6 separate regions of the Homo sapiens genome follow, and all the other regions are linked to region 3. Evidence: promoter capture Hi-C in 16 types of primary human blood cells and fetal thymus (Javierre and others, 2016). All regions are on one chromosome and are shown on one strand. Each heading gives the region's core, a stretch centred on a gene start or on the middle of the fragment in contact. The rest is flanking DNA. Distances are from core to core; before and after follow the strand shown.

What was found. Contacts are between HindIII fragments. The CHiCAGO score rates a contact against its expected background, and 5 or more counts as called.
Region 1: a contact is called between a fragment that was not itself captured here and the fragment with the promoter of AURKAIP1 in region 3, in 2 of 17 cell types (total B cells and naive CD8 T cells). The highest score is 8.0, in total B cells.
Region 2: a contact is called between the fragment with the promoter of PERM1 here and the fragment with the promoter of AURKAIP1 in region 3, in 3 of 17 cell types (activated CD4 T cells, total B cells and naive CD4 T cells). The highest score is 11.2, in activated CD4 T cells.
Region 4: a contact is called between a fragment that was not itself captured here and the fragment with the promoter of AURKAIP1 in region 3, in 1 of 17 cell types (fetal thymus). The highest score is 7.0, in fetal thymus.
Region 5: a fragment that was not itself captured here is called in contact with the fragment with the promoter of AURKAIP1 in region 3 in 1 of 17 cell types (total B cells); the score reaches 5.1 in total B cells.
Region 6: a contact is called between a fragment that was not itself captured here and the fragment with the promoter of AURKAIP1 in region 3, in 1 of 17 cell types (total CD4 T cells). The highest score is 5.6, in total CD4 T cells.

The regions. Positions count from the first base shown.
Region 1 is chr1:1,715,236-1,717,935 of GRCh38, reverse strand. CDK11A (cyclin dependent kinase 11A) reads left to right here. Exons shown (of 20, transcript NM_024011.4): 5 at 1,458-1,590. Among named protein-coding and RNA genes, the nearest start is that of CDK11A, 7.8 kb to the left of the region's middle. The HindIII fragment of the contact is 1,554 bases long and covers 665-2,218 here.
Region 2 is chr1:980,843-983,342 of GRCh38, reverse strand. It overlaps PERM1 (PPARGC1 and ESRR induced regulator, muscle 1), which reads left to right and starts at 1,250. Exons shown (of 4, transcript NM_001394713.1): 1 at 1,250-1,278; 2 at 2,170-2,500. The coding sequence starts at 2,314. The HindIII fragment of the contact is 23,754 bases long and covers 1-2,500 here.
Region 3 is chr1:1,373,781-1,376,480 of GRCh38, reverse strand. It overlaps AURKAIP1 (aurora kinase A interacting protein 1), which reads left to right and starts at 1,274. Exons shown (of 4, transcript NM_017900.3): 1 at 1,274-1,327; 2 at 1,691-1,776; 3 at 2,036-2,481; 4 at 2,579-2,700. The coding sequence starts at 1,725. The coding sequence ends at 2,680. RefSeq lists silencers at 1,284-1,463, 1,484-1,533 and an enhancer at 583-1,488. The HindIII fragment of the contact is 3,347 bases long and covers 1-1,892 here.
Region 4 is chr1:1,691,409-1,694,108 of GRCh38, reverse strand. It overlaps SLC35E2B (solute carrier family 35 member E2B), which reads left to right and starts at 1,314. Exons shown (of 10, transcript NM_001290264.2): 1 at 1,314-1,660. RefSeq lists silencers at 841-920, 1,491-1,650 and an enhancer at 1,485-1,779. The HindIII fragment of the contact is 3,344 bases long and covers 1-2,700 here.
Region 5 is chr1:1,002,944-1,005,643 of GRCh38, reverse strand. No RefSeq gene overlaps it. Among named protein-coding and RNA genes, the nearest start is that of HES4, 4.2 kb to the right of the region's middle. The HindIII fragment of the contact is 5,463 bases long and covers 1-2,700 here.
Region 6 is chr1:1,066,228-1,068,927 of GRCh38, reverse strand. LOC100288175 (a long non-coding RNA gene) reads right to left here. Exons shown (of 4, transcript NR_148960.1): 4 at 2,475-2,700. LOC105378948 (a long non-coding RNA gene) reads left to right here. Exons shown (of 5, transcript NR_168433.1): 1 at 1-367; 2 at 888-1,130; 3 at 2,130-2,182; 4 at 2,330-2,462. Among named protein-coding and RNA genes, the nearest start is that of RNF223, 6.7 kb to the left of the region's middle. RefSeq lists a silencer at 25-214. The HindIII fragment of the contact is 4,423 bases long and covers 1-2,700 here.

The sequences.
Region 1 (2,700 bases), core at 192-2,691, 340 kb before region 3:
TCTAGCTGAAAGCATGCATGTGTCACAGACTGAAAACCAGAGAGAGCAAACTCTAGCTGAAAGCATGCGTGTGTCACAGACCGTTCAGAGGGGCTATAGAGAGGATACTCTAGCTGAAAGCGTGCGTGTGTCACAGACCGAAAACCAGAGAGAGCAAACTCTAGCTGAAAGCATGCGTGTGTCACAGACCGTTCAGAGGGGCTATAGAGAGGATACTCCAGCTGAAAGTGTGCGTGTGTCACAGACCGAAAACCAGAGAGAGCAAACTCTAGCTGAAAGCATGCGTGTGTCACAGACCGAAAACCAGAGAGAGCAAACTCTAGCTGAAAGCGTGCGTGTGTCACAGACCATTCAGAATGGCTAGTCCATTTTTCCTCTGGGGTTTTCTCTCCCCCATTATATTGTTTGGGAGCAGTTTGTTTACATTTAAAATGACCTGAATTCAACAAGTATAGGAGAAAAACACACCCCAAAATGGGTATTTGCTCAAGTCCAAAGAATGGGTTAGGCTTGAGCAGTTTGATCTCGTACCAACATCAGGAGATTCTTACGGGTGTTAGGAAAATTGGACCTGGAGCCCGATTGAAATCTCATTATTATAAATACGCTTGATTAATTAATGTGGCTTCATTGCACAGTGGAGAAGCCCACTGATAGCAAAGCTTTGTTCTGTAGTCTTTGTGAAGAGTGGTTTTTGTATTATAAAACTGATAATTATAGTTTATTCAGTATAGAAAATTTTTAAAAGATGAATATTACAATTCTCTTCTGTGATAGCAGAATTGTTTTTCTTTTTTCTTCTTTCTTCATAATTAGACGCTTACTGCAGATAGTTTTCTATTTTCAAAGTTTTTTATTTAACATAAAATCATGATTATTCGACTGGGTGCAGTGGCCCAGGCCTGTAATCCCAGCACTTTGGGAGGACAAGGATGGAGGATCACTTGAGCCCAGGAGTTCAAGACCAGCTTGGCCAATATAGTGAGACCCTGTCTCTTCAAAAAAAAAAAAAAAAAGATTAGGATTACTTAACATCATTATTTAAATATTTAATGTTCTTGATTTAATTTCATTTTCATGTGATTTTTTTTTTTTTTTTTTTTTTTTTTTTTTTTTTTTTTGAGATGGAGTCTCACTTTTTCGCCCAGGCTGGAGTGCAGTGGCACGATCTCGGCTCACCGCAACCTCCACCTCCCAGGTTCAAGTGATTCTACAGCCTCAGCCTCCCTTAGTACCTGGGATTACAGGTGCCTGCCACCACGCCCAGCTAATTTTTGTATTTTTAGTAGAGACGGGGTTTCACCATGTTGGCCAGGCTGGTTTTGAACTCCTGACCTCAGGTGATCCACCCGCCTCGGCCTCCCAAAGTGCTGGGATTACAGGCGTAAGCCACCGTGCCCGGCCTCGTGAAATTTTTGAAGTGAGGTTTCTTTGCATGACACTTTATTTCTCATTAGGGAAGCATGCTAGAGTGAAAGAAAGAGAGCACGAACGTCGGAAACGACATCGAGAAGAACAGGATAAAGCTCGCCGGGAATGGGAAAGACAGAAGAGAAGGGAAATGGCAAGGGAGCATTCCAGGAGAGAAAGGTGAGTGGGCTGGGTCAGTTGAGGACTTTATGAAAGGGCCGTGGTAGTGTGTCCTGTCACAGCAATGAAGAAGAATTTGGCAATAGAAGTCACATTTGTTGCAGAAGTGGTAGACATGGAAACAGCACAGTGAACGCTGGACGAGGCTGACCAAGAGAACTGTCCTGAGGGAGTGAGTTTTCACTGCATCTGGAAGTAAGAACGGGTGTGATTTGATTGAGGGAAGACAATGAAGGGATCAGAAATCTGCACGTCCCGCCGGGCGCAGTGGCTCACGCTAGAATTCCAGCACTTACGAGGCTGAGGTGGTTGGATCCCTTGAGCCTGGGAGGTCAAGGCTGCAGTAAGCTATGACCATGCTACTGCACTCCAGCCTGGTTGACAGAGTGAGACTGTCTCAAAAAAAGGAGAAGGGAGATCCCAAAAACCTTGAAACAGTCTGGAAATCGGGACACTGGACTCCTAGGACTCCTGGCCATTAGTCTGTATATTCGTTCCCCTTTATGAGCCAGATTCCCAAGAAAGAACATCGGTGTAGCCCCAGATCTGTTCTGTGAACCAGGAAAAAGGCTGTAGGCCAGGTGCGAGCAGGCCCATCTCCGCCTTCAGAGTGAGTCCACAGAAAGCTTGCAAGCTGCTCCAGGAAGAGAGGAGTCTGAAGCGGAAGGGCGTGTGCAGCGATGTTTGCCAGCAGCCAGGGCTGGGTACACAGCATGTAAAGATGATGAGAGGGCGCTGGTTCTTGTTGATGCCGAAGGGTGTGGGAGACACTGAGGCCCAGGGGTCAAGGTCCGAGACCGCTGCTGGGTGAGCAAGGTTTCAGTTGGCCTAGTTCCTGTTAGTGTGTGAAACATTCATGTATGCCACGCCCTGTGCCAGACATTGAGTGTGTCTTGTCCCACGAGAGTAGAGCTTGGGATAGAAGTGGAGGTTGGTAGATGAAATTTGGGCTGTCATATTGATTTCCCAGAAGGTAAAGACAGGAGAGTGAATGAACAAAAATTGTTGGGGGCAGACTTCTGGGTAGGGCCGATTCAGATCAGCCAATCCAGAACTGGGTGTGGTAGCATATGCTACGTGGGAGGCTAAGGCCAGAGGACCGCATGACGC
Region 2 (2,500 bases), core at 1-2,500, 390 kb after region 3:
GGAGGCACAGGGAGGCGGCCGCAGCCGAGAGACGCCACACAGAAGCAGATGCGCAGCTCCTGGGAAACTCCAGCCTGGAGCACGGCCACGCAGCCACCTGGGGAACGGGGCGGCACCTTCTGACGCTGACCCCAAGCGTCCTGGAAATGTGAGAGGTTCGCCGAAAGGAATGTTCCCAGATATTCACAGCCGCACCGTGTGTGGTAGCTGCAAACTGGAAACGACCCACATCGCCACCCACGGGAAACGGCACAGCCGCGTGGCACGTTCACACAGGACAGCCTCACCCGCCCGGGCAGTCGCCCGCGGCCCTCATGGCAGCTGTCTCCAGAGCACGGCGTGGGCCCGAGGACACAGATGCAGAAAGGGATGCAGGGTGCGATTCCACTTGTGAAAGCTCAAGTCAGGCCGGCCCTGCGTGGCGGGACGCCTTGTCCTGTGGTCTCGTGGCAGCTACTTTCTGGAAAAGCATCGTATGGCACCAGGCATGCACTTTCTGCACGCCCAGCTCTCACTGCCACCCCTCACGGCGCACACCCCAGTCTCCTAGTATCGTGCCCTGAACTCTCAGGAGCTTCTCGGTCCAAGCCTCCTCCTTAGAGAGGTCTCCGGCCCCTCCAGCCACGCCTCTCCCTACTTCTTTCTCAGGACGTGCTGCCATCGGAGCTGAGCTCACCTGCCTGTTTGATCGGATGTTTATTGTTGGATCCCTCGCCCTGTCCTCTTGTCCCCTCTGGCTCGGAACCTGCCTGGGAATGGGCACCGTGAACCCCAAGGTCAGGACGGCCTGGAGGGTGCAGCTGAGCGGAGCCAGGCGTGGGGGCTCTGACGCTGACGCTCCCTGGCGTCACTCACCCTCACATGAGCCCCAGAGGTCAGGACCGGGAGGCACAAGCCCTGGCCGGGACACAGAGGCCATCTCAGAAGCAGGCCAGGAACATTCCAGGGGCGGCAGGGAGGGCAGGTCTGAGGTTTCACCGCGGGTGGCGGAGGCACGGGAACTGAGCGGTGCTGCCTGCTGGTCAGCGTCCTCCGGCCCGTGTCTGACCCCACCTCAGCCCGGCCCCGTGCCAGGAAGTCGTCCTCATGTACTGTAGCTGGAGGGCCCTCAAATGCCATCTATTTGTGGCCTGGACCCTGATGGCTGGCACGAGTCTCATGTGGCCACAGGGACGTGGTATTTTTGGCACAGGGGGAGGAGCCTGTGCAGCCACAGCCTAGCACCATGCCGACCCAGGACGGGCAGCTCAGACGCCCAGCTCGGCCGCCGGGACCCAGGTAGGACATGGTCAGCTGCTGGCTCCTGACCCAAGGGGCCCCAATGGTAACAACCCCCACAGAGGCTTCTCAAGAGACCAGAGAGGAGGGCGAAGGTCAGTGGGTGGGAAGCCACCATGCCCTGGCCTCCGTCTCAGGACCGTCCCCACCAAAGTGACTTCCCACCCCTGGGTCCAGAGGGGCTGACCTGAGGCCGAGGGCGGCCCCCTCTAGGGGTAGACCCGACAGCTGGCTAGGGTCTCCTTGCTTCTCTGAGACGGGGCAAAGGAAGGCACCCCGGGCAGCCGGGCAGGCCTGGATCGTGGTGCAGACCTCGAGGACGGCCCGAGGTGGCTGCTGGGTCAAGAGACCCACCGCAGCCTGCACCTCCTGCCCAGGCTCTCCGTGCTGACTTGGGCCAGCTCTGGCCAGCACCACCTGGTGAGCTCAGAGAATAGCCTGGCCCAGCCAAGGCGATCGGAAGGTCATCGCCGAGGGCTGGGCACCTGCTGGGCCCTGTAAACCTTTCCTGTGGCCGGCTGCCAGCTGGGGCGCACTGGGATGGACCAGGGCTGCCCACCCCCGAGGGCACTGGTCCCATCGGGTGGACCCTGAAAGGTGCTTTGCCGTGCAAAGACAGCTCTGGCAGAAGGTGGAGGAGGTGAGGCTGCCCCAGCTGAGGTGTGATGGGAAAGAGCATTCAAACCTGAGGACGGCTGGTTTTATAGCTTCACTGGTAGAAAATCATCCTTGATTCTAGGAATGTAACACCGCATCATCACACAGCTATCATTTGGGGTGCGTTGGGAACTAGGGTCATGGGAGCTGGGGATCTTCTAACTTGGAAATCGTCACCACTAGGTTTGAAGGAAGCGCGGCCCTCCCCTCGAGATGCTGTTCTCTTCCTTTCAGGGCATGGATGGAGCCCCGAGGCGGTGGGAGCTCCCAGGTCTCGTGGGGCAGGGGCGGCATGTGCAGGGTGGTGCCCGGGGCCTGAACCCATGAAGACCCCACCGGACCCATTCTGCTACCCTCCAGTGCCTCTGCTGACTCCACATGGAAAATTTCCAGTACAGCGTCCAGCTGAGTGACCAGGACTGGGCCGAGTTCTCAGCCACCGCCGATGAGTGTGGCCTCCTGCAGGCCGGCCTGGCCTCTGGGGACGAGCTCTTGTCCAGTGACATTGACCAAGGGGACAGCAGTGGCAGCAGTCCCCCCAGGGCCCCACCTCTCCCAACTGGGC
Region 3 (2,700 bases), core at 25-2,524:
GCAAATAACGTTCGTAAACCTTCCTGCTTGGAGTCCCAAGTAGCCCCTCTGAGGGGTAACGTAGAGTCATCTGGGGACCTCAGTTGTAGAGGTGGGCCTGGAGCCTGAACTTTATGTCCTCACACTGGCCTATCCTACCTGTCACTCACTGCTTAGCCAGGCTGGGCCCGGCAGATGACCTGGCCTTTCCACTTCCTGCTAAGCGTCCCTGGAAGACCCTCCTGCAAGGCAAGTCTCCGAGCAGGCCCAGCAGGCTCTGCTCCACACCCCTCTCCCACCAGGCGCCCCTGCAAGTCCATGCTGGGGTCTCTATATTAGCCAACCTCACGGAGGTCAAAGGGGCCTGTCTGGAGTAGAAAGGTGAAGCTACACGTTGGCAGCGCCTACTCTGGGGAGCATCATTAGGGGCTCAGCCAAACCCAATCCACCAGAGAGGCTGCTTTTAGTTCTCAGACAAAAAGTGTGAGTCTGATTTTTATTTTATTTATTTATTTATTTTTTTGAGACAGGATCTATGTCACCCAGACTGGAGTGCAGTGGTGCGATCTCGGCTCACCGCAACCTCTGCCTCCTGGGCGCAAGCGATTCTCTTGCCTCAGCCTCCCGAGTAGCTGGGATTACAGGCGCCTGCCACCACGCTAGGCTAATTTTTGTAGTTTTAGTAGAGACGGGGTTTCACCATGTTGGCCATGCTGGTCTCGAACTCCTGACCTCAGGTGATCCACCAGCCTCGGCCTCCCAAAGTGCTGGGATTACAGGCCTGAGCCACCGCGCCCAGCCTGCGTCTTATTTTTTTTTTTTTAACCCCAGGAATGAGGAGTCGGGGAGGCCCGGTACCGCAGGCTCAGTGCTTATTCCGGGTCCTTGGTCTCTAGCAAAAACGGGGGAAATAGCTCTAGACGCTTCCGCCTTCCACGTAACTCCACTTCCGTTGCCAGATACGTCACTTCCGTAGTCTTGAGCCCGCACTTCCGTCGGCCCGTTGGGAATCCGGCCCCTGGGTGGTCCGGAAACGATTCTGGACCTGCGGGTATATCCAGGGCCCGCACCCCCTGGGATTGTGGGAAATGTAGTTTTTTGCCTCCGTAAGGGACCAGGCGGAGCTGAGGAACCGCGCGAGGACTGGGACCGTGATTCCACTAACCGGAAACCGTCGCCTTTCGGGCCCGGCGGGGCCTGAGCCAATGCAGAATCGGGGGCCGCGAGGACGCCAGCGGGCGCTGTGCGTAGGAACCGCCGGGTGGCCGCTGCCGATCGGGGCCGACTTGGGGACGGACCGGAAGTGCCCGAGGGCGGCCGCAGAACGGTCAATTTGAGCCGCGTCGAGGTCGGGCTTGGGAAGGGTCAGCGGGAGGCCTGAGGGCGCCGGGCGCTGCGGCAGGCGGGCCCGGGGTCCAGCCGAGAGGGTCCGGGCGCCAGGCAACGCGATTCGCGCGGGGGTGAACCCGGGGAGGGGGCCGGCCTCCCCGTTCTGGGACCTTTCGGTGCGTCCGAGCGCGACACCGCCCGCGTCGGGGGCTTGGGAGCCTCGGGGCGCGAGCTGTGTTGGAAGCAAAGTCCTCCTTGTGGGTTGGGGTGGCGGAGGGAGAAGGGAAGCGAGGGTCGCGGCGGGACCAGACGCCCCAGTCCCGGCCCGCCCGCGACTACTGAAGGCGCTGCCGCCTGACCTGAACGGGCACTTGTGTTCCAGCTCCCCTGGGACCTGTGGCCGCCGCCCACAGACCATGCTCCTGGGGCGCCTGACTTCCCAGCTGTTGAGGGCCGTTCCTTGGGCAGGTAGGAAGCCGCGCGGGGGCGGATGGGAGGATGCACACCTGGTTAGGAGTGCGGGTCTCAGCAGCTCCGCTGGGGCAGGGCCGGTGGCCACACACACACTCTTTCCCCTCTAAGCTTCCGATGCTCACAGAGGGAACCTCAGGGGTTCAGGCCAGGAATGAGGTGCGGGGGATCCTCGCTGGGACGAACCTGCTGCTCCTCAACCCGACGGGCCTGTGTGGTCTCGCGAGCGGTGACCGTGGCGTCTGGTTTTCTGCAGGCGGCCGCCCGCCTTGGCCCGTCTCTGGAGTGCTGGGCAGCCGGGTCTGCGGGCCCCTTTACAGCACATCGCCGGCCGGCCCAGGTAGGGCGGCCTCTCTCCCTCGCAAGGGGGCCCAGCTGGAGCTGGAGGAGATGCTGGTCCCCAGGAAGATGTCCGTCAGCCCCCTGGAGAGCTGGCTCACGGCCCGCTGCTTCCTGCCCAGACTGGATACCGGGACCGCAGGGACTGTGGCTCCACCGCAATCCTACCAGTGTCCGCCCAGCCAGATAGGGGAAGGGGCCGAGCAGGGGGATGAAGGCGTCGCGGATGCGCCTCAAATTCAGTGCAAAAACGTGCTGAAGATCCGCCGGCGGAAGATGAACCACCACAAGTACCGGAAGCTGGTGAAGAAGACGCGGTTCCTGCGGAGGAAGGTCCAGGAGGGACGCCTGAGACGCAAGCAGGTGAGTGGCCCCCTGCTTGGCCCTGGGAGGGCAAAGTGCTGAGAACACGTTTCTTTGCCACGAATTACTTGGCGGTCCCTCTCTCTGCGTCTTGCAGATCAAGTTCGAGAAAGACCTGAGGCGCATCTGGCTGAAGGCGGGGCTAAAGGAAGCCCCCGAAGGCTGGCAGACCCCCAAGATCTACCTGCGGGGCAAATGAGTCTGGCGCCGCCCTTCCCG
Region 4 (2,700 bases), core at 154-2,653, 320 kb before region 3:
TCACTATGTTGGCCAGGCTGGTCTCGAACTCCTGACCTCAGGCGATCCGCCCGCCTCAGCCTCTCAAAATGCTGGGATTACAGACGTGAGCCACCTCGCCCGGCCAAAAGTAATCTTTTCTTTTTTCTTTTGACAGGGAGTCTCGCTCTGTCGCCAGGCTGGAGTGCAGTGGCGCCATCTCGGCTCACTGCAACCTCCGCCTCCCGGGTTCAGGTGATCCTCCTTCCTCAGCCTCCGGAGTAGCTGGGATTACAGGCGCCCGCCACCACGCCCGGCCAATTTTTGTATTTTTAGTAGAGACGACGTTTTACCACGTTGGCCATACCAGGCTGGTCTCAAGCTCCTGACCTCGTGATGCGCCGGCCTCGGCCTCCCAAAGTGTTGAGATTACAGGCGTGAGCCACCGGGCCCGGCCCAAAAGTAATCTCTAAAGAGCCCTTTAGCCGTAACTTCATTCCTGAAAATTATTTGGGAAAGTAACGCTAGGAAAACGCTCGACGAAGCTCCGGAGCCGGGGGTCCTCGGGGCCGCAGGCGCGCCCGCGGGTGTCTGCTCCGGATGTCCCGCGGCAGCCCCGACGCCAGCCTGGATACGAAGGCCCCGCCCCGGAGCGCGCCACCAGCCAATCAGCGCCCTGAGGCGAGTCCTCACCCCGCGCGGCGGCCCCGCCCCCCGCAGCTCCGGGCCCAGCTGTCAGAGCAGCTTTCCCTCAGGCTGGGCGGAGCGTGGCCACTTCCGCCAGGAGGCGCCTTTGTGTCTTCTAAGTTAAGCCTATTCAGTGGATTTCTTATTCCTGGAACCCAAACCTGGGCAGTAAACCCTCCGGGGCTTAGAGGCCGCTGCCTCCACAGACTGGCCGATCCCGCCCTGAAGTGCCGCTGGTGGAACAGCCCGGGCGGAACCGCCCGGGCGGAACCAACGGGCTGCCGCGGGGGGTGGGGCCACGGTCCCCCCCCTTCTGCCTTCAGTGGAACGGCCCCGGCGGAACCAACGGGCCACGGGGATGCACTACGCGCACCGTCGTCCTCTCCCTCTGCCTGCAGTGGAACGGCCCGGGCGGAACCAACGTGCGGCCGCCCGGAGCACTCGGCGCGCCGTGTCCCTCCCCGTGTGGCTGCACTGCAACGGCCCGGGCTGGACCACCAGGCGGCAGCGGAGAGGCACTTAAAAGCCCCGTGTTACCCTAGACCTTAAAAAAAAAAAAAAAACTGCGTGTTTCCACCCCCGTCGGCCTGCAGTGGAAGGGCCCGAGCAGAACCAACGGGGGAGGGGACGCTGAGCGCGCCGTGTTTCTCCTCCCGTCTGCCTGGAGTAGAACGGCCCGGGCGGAACCAACGGGCAGCCGCGGGGGCGTTGTGGGCCGCGGCGCGTTTCCCCGGCTCCGTGGCTCTGGGGCACTGAGGAGCGGCGCCCGCGGGGCAGCGAGGAGCCCGATGCAGGGTTCTGCGCGTCATTTCCGGTCCCGCGGGCGCCCCGTGAAGCCCACCTGGATCCGCCAGCGCTGTGCCACTCCCCAGTGCCGAGCTCCGAGCTGTCTCCGCGGCCTCGCGCCCGGCCCCTCCACCGCGCGCCTCTCAGGCCCCGCCCGCCAGCGTCCCTTTGTTGTGAAGGCGCCGGGGCCTAGCGCTATGCCTGCGGCGGAGACTGCATCAGGCTCTCGGTGGGTTCTGCGTGCGGGGTGCTCTGCTCGGTGATCGGTGCTGGGTGCTGCGTGCTCGGTGCTCGGTGCTGGGTGCTGGGTGCCGGTACTGATGCTGAGTGTGCGGGCGTCCGGGGTTTCCCTGCCCGGATTCGCTCCTGGGGGTCCTTTCCTATGGCTGGCGCTGTGCGCGGAAAACGCTGGTGGGGTTTTCCCAGCTGGCTTTAAGCGTTTTCACGTCCGGGAGTCCACGGCGACCCCCACGCCCTGAAGCCTGGGAACGCGGTGTGCGTGGCCGCAAAAAGAACAACAACAACAAAAAAACACAAAACAAAACACGCAAAAAACTAAAGCAAAACTCCCGACAGCCGAGCCCCGTTCGGTGCCTTTTCTTTTTTTTTTTCTTTAATGGAGTGAAATCTACTTTGCTCAGGAAGCCTGCAAATCACATTTTCAGGCCAAACGAGGCAGTATTTTAGAAGGGGTCGCTGAGGCAGGAGTAGGAAGGCTTTCCACTCCACTCACGCATTTTCAGTGTAGGCGAATCGTAAAACGGAGGGCAGAACGAAAATGAGCGGATCTGGGAGTGCAGGCTGCGCTTCGTCCACATCGATAACAGATGTTTCCTGGTGAAGATGTGTAGGGCGCAGCGGGTCACCTGGTCGGGGGAGGGCACAGGGCGTCCCTCCACGGGGTGCCTTTGGCGTTGGGCACTTGTGTGGTCTCCAGCTTCCGGGTTTTGGAAGCGGAGTGTCCCCTGCAGCCTGAGCCTCTTGCAGGTGGTTTCCTTGGGACGAACTCCCAGGGGGAGGTCTGAGTTCTGGGGCATGGTTTGAAGATTTGGGACACATTTTGCCTGAAATTCCCTGCTGGCCGTTTGAACCCACCTGGACTTCCTGACCAGGGGCACGGATTCTTAACCTCTGGTGCAGGGGCCTGGCTAGGAGAGGTCTGCACAGTTGGACGAGGTGCAAAGTGACGCTTTGTCAGTAACCCGGCGTTGAGATTCCTGTGGTGGGACGAGCAGCTCCTATGGCTTTATCCCATTTTAAATCCAAGTT
Region 5 (2,700 bases), core at 89-2,588, 370 kb after region 3:
GCCCCTGCGAGGGGAGGGCAGAGGCAGGCGGTGGAGGGGAGGAGGGGTCAGTGTGTGCTTCGACTCCTCTGGAATCTGGCTGCTGTGACTTGCTTTGGCCGATGGAGTGTGGTGGAGATTTTACTATGTGCGTTCTGGATCCTGGCCTCAAGAGTCCCTAGGCTTCCACTTCGCCCTCCTGGAACGCTGGCCATGTGTTAGGAGGAAGCTGACTGAGAGTGGGTAGGACTCCAGGCTGCACGGCTCTGGCAGAGAGCCCGGCAGCTGAGGGACAGCAGCCCCAGGTGTCCAGCATGGCTACCCTTGGGCCCTTCCCACCCAGCTGACCTTGGCCCAGGGCCGCAGGCTGTGAGAGGCCCCAGGAAGCCACTGGCACTGCCCTGATCCCCACTACGGAAAGAATAGGCAGGTGGTGCTTAAGCCACCAAGAAGGTAGGGATTCCACACGGGCTGTGGTCTGCCCACATGAACAGGAAGGAGGGAGGGTGAGGGGCAGACACAATGGCCGGCCAGATAGGCTTCTCTTGATAAGGAGAGAACAGACAGGGGAGGAGGAAGCCGCAGATGCAGGCTGTGCATCTGCCCGAGATCTCAGGGCTGGCGGACAGCAGAGGCGGGAGCTGGGAGGGGGGCAGAGAGAGTGGAGAGGCTGGACCGTGGAGGGGTGCAGTTGGGAGAAAGGACCCAGTGGGGTAAGTGGGGAGGGGACAGGACCCCTGAAAGAGAGGAAGTCAAAGTTGGAGAATTGCTGGTGTGGATTTTGAAGGCATGGCCGGGAGAGTGACAGGGAGCAGGTGTCCCCTCCTGCAGGAAAGGGGTGCCGATGACTTCAACACAGTGAGGTCTGGTCACAAAGCGGGGGTGGTTTTGGTGGAAAAGGAAAGCAGTCTGGGAGTGCCAGTGAGGAGGGACAAGGGCACCCACCTCGTCCTGGTACAGCAGAGAGAAAAGCAGCGCCTGCCGGGAGCAGGAACAGGCTGGGAGGGCATCCCAGACAGGCAGGGTGGGGAGACTCCAGTACCATCCTGCTTGGAGACACAGCTCCCACCGCTGCTGAGAAGGCATGCAGGTGGGGTGGCAGTGGCACCAGCCTGGTGCTGCTGCTTCTGCCTGAGTCCTGGTCTCTCTCTGGCAGCCTGGATTCCTGCAGCCCTGGCCTTCTGTCACTACAATCCCAGCAAACACCCAGGAACAGCTCTGCGCCCACCTCGGCTCTCCGGGAGAGAAACCCACCCCCACCCCAGCCTTGGTTCCTCGGTGGCTTTGGCCCCAGCTGCCTGAGTGCACAGCCCGCTGCCCTGGGCAGGAGTTGGGGACCATGCTGAGGACCACCTGCAGGGGGTGGCTACAGGTCTCTGATGTCAGGAGTCAGTGTGTGAGGGGGGTGTTGAGGGCCGTGGCGAGATGGCAGCCGCCACCTCTGGGTCAGAGGTTGGGAGGGGAGGTCACAGCCAGCACCTCACAGGCCTTTTGGGGACACTGGCTGTGGTCATGGAGTGCGGCCACAGTGGCCCAATGTGAGGAGACCCCCCAACAAGGCTGAGGCCCCCCCAGGTCCAGCCTAGAAGACACCCCGGTTTTCCCCACAGTCTCCCCACTGGCGTGTGAATGTCCTCATCAGTCACCCCCCTTAGCTAACAGGGGGCTGTGCAGATGCCCCGGGGCCACCCGCCATTTGGAGCTTGACCCACTCAGGGCCAGGAGGTCGGCTGGATTTCAGTGGCTCCCAAGAAGCACCCGTTAGATGGGGGGGAGGGGTGGGGAAGTCGCTGAGCCTCTGCCTCTGTGGAAGAGAGGAAGGGATCAGCGAGGAGGGAGCAGGGGTGAGGAGGGAAGGGTCACTCTCCCTGGGTCAGGGCCCCAGCCCACCTCCACTATTCCAGTCTTGAGTGCCGCACCACAAACCACCCCAAAACAGCACGCTCAGCAACCACCCTACTGTGTGCGGGCAGCCTTGGAACGGGGCGCGCTGGGACCTGCGCCGGAAGCTGCTCAGGAGTCTGGAATCCAATGCTGATTCCTCCACGGGGCCTCTCCTTGAGGCCAGGGCGTGCTCCCTCCCAGCACGGCAGCTGGGTTCCAAGAGCGACTGTCCCAGGACAGCGAGGTACGCATGGCGTCTTCCAAGTCAGCCTCAGAAGTCATGTCCTGCCAAACACCCCATTCTTCCCAGCTGAGACTGTCACAGAGTCTCATGTAGAAGGCATTTCAAGATATGGGGATGGGAGATACTATCACGGCCGTCTCTGAAAAACGCAACCTGCCCCCAACCCAGGTGTCGGCACCATCCTGGGCTGCAGCCCAGGATCCACCCCCACACTCAGAGCAAGGGAACCCCAAGGCCCTCAGGAACCCTGAGGCCCCTACCACAAATCGAGGCCAGATTCGAGAGGCAGGGAGGGGACCATCAGAGGCCAAGGGCACAGACCCAGAGAGACAGACACACAGATGGGAGCTGTCCTGTGGCAAAGAAGGTGGGAGGAACACAGTCCCCGGAGATCCTGGAGTGGGCTCCCTGGCAGGGGGCAGGGAGCAGGGGGGTCTCTTCCTCTCCAGAAGAGCAGAGGCAAGTGCTGGTGGCCCCTCCTGCCTCTGCTCAGCAAGGACCCCAGCTGCTGCCCAGGGGCAGGAACCCTGGCAGATGGGCGTGGGTGCTCACTATGAGTTGGACGCCGTCAGTGGCTTTAAAAGTAGAATCTC
Region 6 (2,700 bases), core at 144-2,643, 310 kb after region 3:
GCCCCCACTGAGGACAAACTAGGCGGCCTTTGACGAGAGTGGGGGGCGGGGGCGGGGGCGCCCCCGCCCACCCGATGGCTCCGCCCTCGTCGTCCCGCGTGGCCCCGCCCCGCCGCACCTGCACCTGCACAGCCCGCGTGGCCCCGCCCCGCCGCACCTGCATCTGCACAGCCCGCGTGGGCCCGCCCCGCCGCAGCTGAAGTGCACCACCATGGGCCCGGCCCGCGGCTTGCTGCTCTGGGCCCGGTTCACCTCGTCCCGGAAGCCGAGGACGCCGGCGGGATCGGCCCGGACGCCGTAGTCCGGCCAGCCGAAGTACTGGAAGTGCTGCACCGTACGCTGTGGCTCCTCCTGAGCGGGGCAAGCGGTGAGTGTGACCCCAGGGTGGGAGGAGGAGGCTGAGGCACAGCTGGGTTTCCGGGAGTGCCCAAGCGGAGGGGCTGCGGGAGCCAAGGCGAGCAGGAGGAGGAGGAAGGAAATGGGGAGGGGGCGCCGAGATGGCCCCAGGTGGCTCAGGTGCCTGGGGAAGGGAAGAGGGAGCTGGGGGCGGGCGAAGCAGGCTGTGAGGACAGTTATTTTATAAGGAAAAACCAAATGTGAGGGGTCCATGGGGTCCTGGAGGACCCCCCCACACACACTGGGCGGGGGCTGGAGGGAACACGAGGTAATCTGCCCGGAGCAGAAATGGGCGTCTCTGGTATACAACGGAGACCAAAGCTGCAGTTGGAGAGGTGTGTGGGAGGAGCGGCCGCCAGCCCAGGGCTGAGAATGTGGCCACGTCAGTGACCCCTGTCCAGGCTTGGAATGCACCTCCTGGGTTGAGGGGTGTGGAAGCCCCCAAAGGCAGTGGGGTTGGATGCAGGCAGGTGTGGGGTCTCCCAGTGCAGGCCGACAGCAGGCACGCTCCACAGCCGCCAGGCTCACCTGGCCCGGCCGCCACACCTGCAGCTCCCGCACGCAGTAGCCCTGGGCCTGGCCCTTGCCGAGGACGCGCATGTGCACACGGCCGAACTCTTGGCTGCCGGGCAGCTCTGGCCAGTCCCGGAAACACTTGTTCCGAGGGGAGCGCTTTGCATCAGCCTTGCTGGCAGCACCTCGGCACCCCGCCCCTGCGACCTGCAGAGACGCAGGTGTGTACGTGCAGCCACGGGGCTCTGTGGGAGCCTCCCCACTCCCACGGCGTCCCACAGCCTCCTTGGCCTGGTCGGGAAGGGCCTTGGGCAGCCGAAGATGCACGGGGTGGGATGGGCACTGGGAGCACTGGCACCGCACCCCTACCCGGCCCCGCTCCATCTCCCTGGTGGTCATGACGATGACACGCGTGTTCTCCTGGTGCACCGTGGCCCAGAAAGCAGCCACCGTGGCCTGCAGACAGGCCTGCAGACAGCCCTGCAGGCGATGTACACCCTGCGCCCGCGAGGCCCTGCCCCGCGGGGAGGAGCCACAGCGTACGGTGCAGCACTTCCAGTACTTCGGCTGGCCGGACTACGGCGTCCGGACCGATCCCGCCGGCGTCCTCGGCTTCCGGGACGAGGTGAACCGGGCCCAGAGCCGCGAGCCGCGAGCCGCGGGCCGGGCCCATGGTGGTGCACTTCAGCTGCGGCGGGGCGGGCCCACGCGGGCTGTGCAGGTGCAGGTGCGGCGGGGCAGGGCCACAAGGGATGTCCACCCTGCCCCTGCCATGGCCCGGCTCCTCCTCAGGGTCAGTCTGAAAGGGAATGAGGCCAACTGCTGCTGTTAACAGAGGACAAACAAGTCCATGCAAATGCTATGCAAATGATATGCAAACGACACACAAATATTATGCAAAGAGCCCTGGTGGCTTAAACACACTCCTCACTCCAGGCCAGCAAGGGGCTGAGGACCAATGCCCGTCCAGCCTCTCTGAGGACCCCTTGGAGACTGCCGCCCACCCCTCCCTTGGGGACCCTGGTTCTTCCTGAGCCCCCCAGGAGCAATGGGCCCAGGCCCCGCCTCCCGCACACACCCACCCTGATGTAGTCGGCTCCGGGCCCGCTGTCATCCTCGTTGAGCAGGATGACTCAAGGGTAGCATCAACTGGGAAGGGAGGTGCCGCTCAGTTCTCCAGGGCACAGCTCGTGGGCCTCACCCTGCCTCTTTGCCCGCAGACCCTGTGGTGAGCAGAGATGGAGGGTCCAGGGTATGCAAGGGGGAGCCTCAGGTCAGCGGTGGCAGATGCTCGGCCTGCCCCCCACCTCCCCCAGGCCCGACGGGTGACGCCCTGGCCTCCGCCCTCACAGGGAAGGATGTTCTTGTAGTGATTCTTGGGCTTGTTCTCCACACTCTGCCCCTCCTTCCGAGGGTACAGGAACCGGCATTCCTGCTGCTGCAGCATCTGGAGGTGATGGAGCCTTCAGCTCACAGCCCCGGCCCCTTCCCAGAGCCCGAGATGGCCACCCCCAGCCCGTCCCGTGTGGGCGGAAGAGTACCTAGGTGCCGAGGCAAGAGACTGAAGGCACAAACTGTTTCAGTATAATAAAGAAAATAGAATAAGAATAGTCATAATACAAATTAGATACAGCGATGATCATGAACAATTATCCATCATTATTATAAACATTATTAATCATTAGCTTTTAATATTACTCTGTTGCATTAATAATATAACCTAGGAATAACCGGCAGGTATAGGGTCAGGTGCTGAAGGGACATTGTGAGAAGTGAATAGAAGGCAAGAGG